Regions from separate parts of the Homo sapiens genome. Here region 1 is linked to region 2. Evidence: promoter capture Hi-C in human tissues and cell types (Jung and others, 2019). All regions are on one chromosome and are shown on one strand. The core of a region is centred on a gene start or on the middle of the fragment in contact, and the rest is flanking DNA. Distances in the headings are between cores, read along the strand shown.

What was found. The method cuts DNA at HindIII sites, captures the fragments that hold promoters and counts their contacts. A contact is called where the count stands out against the background at its distance.
Region 1: a fragment that was not itself captured here is called in contact with the fragment with the promoter of SEC14L6 in region 2 in 1 of the 25 tissues and cell types used here (IMR-90 fibroblasts).

Annotation. Positions count from the first base shown.
Region 1 is chr22:30,739,321-30,742,036 of GRCh38, reverse strand. It overlaps OSBP2 (oxysterol binding protein 2), which reads right to left. Exons shown (of 14, transcript NM_030758.4): 2 at 668-876. Among named protein-coding and RNA genes, the nearest start is that of MIR3200, 9.1 kb to the right of the region's middle. RefSeq lists enhancers at 1,280-1,339, 1,630-1,689. The HindIII fragment of the contact is 6,032 bases long and covers 1-2,716 here.
Region 2 is chr22:30,545,325-30,548,024 of GRCh38, reverse strand. SEC14L6 (SEC14 like lipid binding 6) reads left to right here and starts at 1,284. Exons shown (of 12, transcript NM_001193336.4): 1 at 1,284-1,396. The coding sequence starts at 1,343. The HindIII fragment of the contact is 18,463 bases long and covers 1-2,700 here.

The DNA of each region.
Region 1 (2,716 bases), core at 74-2,573, 190 kb before region 2:
ACCAGCCTGGCCAACGTGATGAAACCCTGTCTGTATTAAAAATACAAAAATTAGCTGGGCATGGTGGTGTGCGCCTATAATCCCAGCTACTTGGGAGGCTAAGGCAGGATAATTGCTTGAACACGGAAGGCAGAGGTTGCAGTGAGCCGAGATCATGCCACTGTACTCCAGCCTGGGCGACAGAGTGAGACTCTATCTCAAAAAATAAAATAAATTTATAAAGTAAGAAACAAAATGTCTTGCTCAGGACATCTGAGCGGGCTTCCCTAATAGGCAAAGACAGCAGCTCTGGCTAAATGGTTTCACTCTCCACGATGGGGGAACCTGGGGAAACGGCTGGCTTGAGGCACAGACTGACTGCTGCTTCTGGACCTAACCCACTGCAGCATCTGAAGGGTCTGCTGAAGTCCTGACTAGCCCAAAGAAAGGCACACACAGCTCCTGCCCACCAAAAACATTTCCATGCCAAGAACTGCTCGCCAGACAGAATGGCTGAGTCTCTCACTGCTGACGATGCACAGAACATGCACGCACCTTGACCTTCCAGATTGATCCACGCTGGCCTGGGTCTCCTGGCCACCACTGCCCACCAGTGGCTTGCAATTCCCACTTCCTCCAGACTCATGACACCACCATATACACACCCGCTGTCCCAAGTGCTCACTACCTGAATGAGTGTTCATCACGCGGACAGCCTTGGCCTTGGCCAGCTCCAGGGCGGTGATCCACTGCTGCCGGTCCACCTCTGAGCTGGCCTTGAGGTGGTAGCTCCTGGCCCCACTGGTCAGCAAGATACCACAAGAGTCCTCCGTGTCAATGTGCGCGGTGGACAGGTTGATGGTTCCACGGCACGTGTGGGCCATTTCACCCTGATTTCTGTAGGATGTAAGAGAAGGAATGGGGTGAGGCTCCTAATCTCAATGGCTCCAGACTAAAGAAACCCTCCAGGCAAATCCTCAGAATCTCAGACCCTCAGAGCTGGGAGAGGCCCTGGAGTCAAAGTTGGGAGATGATGCCTATTGGAACTGCCTGGTCGTGGCTTGGTTGAGGGGGACTCTAAGGCCACGACTGCTCTCTGTGGGGAATGGCAGAGGGACGGGAGCCTGCATTGGTGCCACGTGTGCAGGGAGTGTCTGGTGTGGTCTAAAGCTTTGCAGACACCAGGAAATGGCAGAATGACTGCCCAGGTCTCTCAAGACAGATCAGCCTTCGGACTCTATGCTAAACTCTTTCCTTTAAGTCTTAGAACCATGGAGTTGGGGCCAGGCGCGGTGGCTCACACCTGTAATCTCAGCACTTTGGGAGACCGAGGAGGGCAGATCACTTGAGGTCATGAGCCAACACGGTGAAACCCTGTCTCTACTAAAAATGAAACTGCCTTTGCAAAATTATGACTGAGAGTGAAAGAGATCTAACTTAACTGACTCCATCTTGCTTCTAACCTCCAAGCTGTCTTTGTTCATTCCTGGGCATAGGCTGAATTAACTTTGAAAGAAACTTAATTTGTAGTTTATAGTTTAAACAAAGATGGGAACAGCCCTTTCCCGAAGCAGACCTCCTTCTTGCCTAGGGACTAGAGTAACATTAGCCACAGGATTAGAAATTATGGTTTAGGAGTCATGCATTTGGAGGCTATAAGATTCTGACCCTCCCTAAACTGCTCCTAAGAGCAGTGCTTGAGATATTTTGCAAACCCTGCACTTGATGGATCAGCTGGCACCACCCACATCGATAAACTGGCTCGTCTGATCTTGTGGCCCCCACCTAGGAACTGACTCAGCACAAGAAGACAGCTTCAACATCCTGTGATCTCATCCCTGACCAATCAGCACTCCTGGCTTACTGGTTCCCCCACCACCCTCCAAGTTATCCTTAAAAACTCTGCTCCCCTTGGCCAGGCGCGGTGGCTCACACCTTTAATCCCAGCACTTTGGGAGGCCGAGATGGGCAGATCACCCGAGGTCAGGAGTTCAAGACCAGCTGGCCAACATGGTGAAATCCCGTCTCTACTAAAAATACAAAAATTAGCTGGGCGTGGTGGCTCTTGCCTGTAATCCCAGCTACTCGGGAGGCTGAGGCAGGAGAATTGCTTAAACCAGGACCGGGGAGGCAGAGGTTGCCGTGAGCCAAGATCGCGCCACTGCACTCCAGCCTGGGCTACAGAGCGAGACTCTGTCTCAAACACAAACAAACAAACAAAACAAAACAAAACAAAAACTCTGCTCCCTGAATGCTCAGGGAGACTGATTTGAATAATAATAAAACTCCCATCTCCCGCACAGCAGACTCTGTGTGAATTACTCTTTCTCTATTGCAATTCCCCTGTTTTCATGAATCGCCTCCGTCTAGGCAGCAGGCAAGGTGAACCCCTTGGGCGTTTACAAAAATACAAAAATTAGCCGGGCATGGTAGCGTGCACCTGTAGTCCCAGCTACTTGGGAGGCTGGGGCAGGAGAATCACTTGAACCCGGGAGGCGGAGGTTGCAGTGAGCCAAAATGGTGCCACTACACTCCAGCCTGGGTGACAGAGCGAGACTCTGTCTCAAAACAAACAAAAAAAAGAACTACAGAGTTGGAGCAGGTTGGGATCCTGCCATTAAAACTGAAATTGGAGGCCCAGAGCCTGAGGGGGCAGACGTAGAGGCATCTCCTGCTGGGAGGCACCTGGGGCCAATGTCTCCCTGATGCTGCCCTTTTGTTCTATCATGAGATCTAC
Region 2 (2,700 bases), core at 35-2,534:
GGGATACAATGTCCTGAGTAAGCACCAGGTCCAGATAGTCCTGATTGTCACTTACTACATGGCTGTATGGCCCCAGGCATGCTGCTTCCCTCTTCCAGGCTCTGTCAGGTAGGGAAGAACAGTCTGGGGCTCAAGGAGCACATGAAGCCTTTGGACTAGAACTTGACATGGAGCCCAGCAAACGGTTTCTGATTAGAGCTAAAGCTGGTGATGTTCTGCCTGTATCACCTCAGCCTCACTACTCCCCAGCAGCAGCACCTGTGTTTCTCTGCCTAAGTACGCTCTCCAGCCTTCTGAATTGTGTGCACAGCAGGCCAGCAGTGCCAGCAGAATTGACAGCCCCTGGAGCAGCCCTCAACTGAAGACTGTCCCGAGATGCTGCATAAATACCCCAGCTCCCTCCCCACTCAGGCAAGGAAACGCTGATGGGCAGGTTCCCTGCTGTCTCCCAGAAGTCCCCACTGGGATTGAGCTCTTCTGTACTTCCTTGATAACCAGGCCTATACAGCTGCCTTCCGTTCTCTGTCTCATTTCCACACTTCCCTACTTGTGTTTCTCAGGACACCTCCCTAATAAACTTGCCCTGAACTCCTTGTTTCAGGGCAACCCAGACTACTACAAATAACTACTGTGTTCCAGGCCCCGTGCACACCGCGTGATCTCATGTGTCCTCACCTTGGGCTCTGGCTTTCTGCTTGTCCAGTGGGTGGTGGGGGCAGATGTAGCCAGGAGTCCCTCCTCACCTCTCATCCTGGCTCCCAGGCCAAGTGTGGCCCAGCTCAGGATTGCAAATCCACCTGTTTGGGTCTGGGCCTGGGAAGTTTCATCCTCAACCCTGAAGCCATGTGCCTTAACATCTGGGATGAATCATGGGCAGTTGCTCTGGACATGTCAGGTGGTAGATGAAGCCTGGGATGAGAGTGAAGGCATGATGACAGTGACTTCCGGGCCTCTGTTGGGGGTGAGAGATGACTTCTCCTGGCTCAAAGAGGCATCCGATGGGACCACAGGAGTAGAGGGTAGGGGACTGAGAGGCAGGGTGAACAGCCGCCTCCGTGTGTGTGTGAAATCAGGTGGTGTCAATTTCAACATGTCATCAACGCTCCGAGGAAACATCGCTGTCCTAATTTTGCAAGTGAGGATGTGAACCCAGGGCAGGCTGAATCCAGGGCCCCATGCCTGAGGCACCTAGTAAGGAATGAGCCCCACCTGTTGCCCTGAGGCTCACAGGAAGTAGTGGGATTTCTGGGTGGTGATAAATGTGGGCATGGCTACCAGCTGGCAAAAGGCAGGCCACCTGGAGGGAGCCACAGAGTGGAGCCTGGACCCATTCATGGGCAGCATGAGTGGACAAGTGGGTGACCTGAGCCCATCGCAGGAGAAGTCGCTGGCCCAGGTGAGTGAAGGGAGAGACTCCTACACCAGCCTCAGTTTCTCCTTCTGCCACGGGGAAGGGCAGGACTCAAGGTCCCTGAGTTTCTTCTGAACTCTCCAGCTCTGGGTCTCTTCCCAACCCTGAGGGGCTTGGTAGCCAGAGGCTACACCAGCACTAACCAATAGAAATACCACGCCACCACAAACGCAAGCCACATAGGTCATTTGAAATTTTCTTTCTTCCTTTTTTTTTTTTTTTTTTTTTTTGAGACGGAGTTTCGCTCTTGTTGCCCAGGTTGGAGTACAACGGCACAATCTTGGCTCACTGCAACTTCTGCCTTCTGGGTTCAAGCAATTCTCCTGCCCTAGCCTCCGGAGTAGCTGGGATTACAGGCACCTGCTACCACGCCTGGCTAATTTTTGTATGTTAGTAGAGATGGGGTTTTAACCACGTTGGTCAGGCTGGTCTGGAATTCCTGATCTCAGGTGATCCACCCACCTTGGCCTCCCAGAGTGCTGGGATTACAGGCATGAGCCACCATGCCCGGCCTTTTTGAAATTTTCTAGTAGCTCCATTAAAGAACTAAAAAGAGGCTGGGCGCTGTGGCTCATGCCTGTAATCCCAACACTTTGGGAGGCTGAGGTGGATGGATCATTTGAGGTCAGGAGTTTGAGACCAGCCTGGGCAACAGGGTGAAACCCTGTGGCAGGAGAATCGTTTGAACCCAGGAGGTGGAGGTTGCAGTGGGCCAAGATTCTGCCACTGCACTCCAGCCTGGGAGACAGAGCAAGACTATGTCTCAAAAACAAAACAAAAACAAAAACAAAACAAAACAAAACAAAAAAAACCTAAAAAGAAACAATTGAAGTAAAGTTTAATGATGTATTAACTTCAATATATAATCTAATCAATATAAAAACAACTGGTCTGGTGCAGTAGCTCGGGCCTATAATCCCCGCACTTTGAGGCGGGAGGATCACTGGAGCCCAGGAGTTCTGGCAACATAGCAAGAACACATCTTTACAAAAAATTAAAAAATTAGCAACATAGGGAGACCCCATCTCTAAAAACAACAACAACAACAACAAATAGCTGGGTGTGGTGGCCCATGCCTGTAGTCCCAGCTACTCGGGAGGCTGAGGTGGGAGGATGGATTGAGCCTAGGAGGTCGAGACTGCGGTGAGCCAACATCGTGCCACTGCACTCCAGCCTGGGCAACAGAGCTAGACCCTGTTTCAAAAAAAAAAAAAATGAGTGTTTTGAGGGGATACTGAGTCTTTGGAATCCTGTGTATTTTACACTCACAGCAGACCTCAGTTCAAACT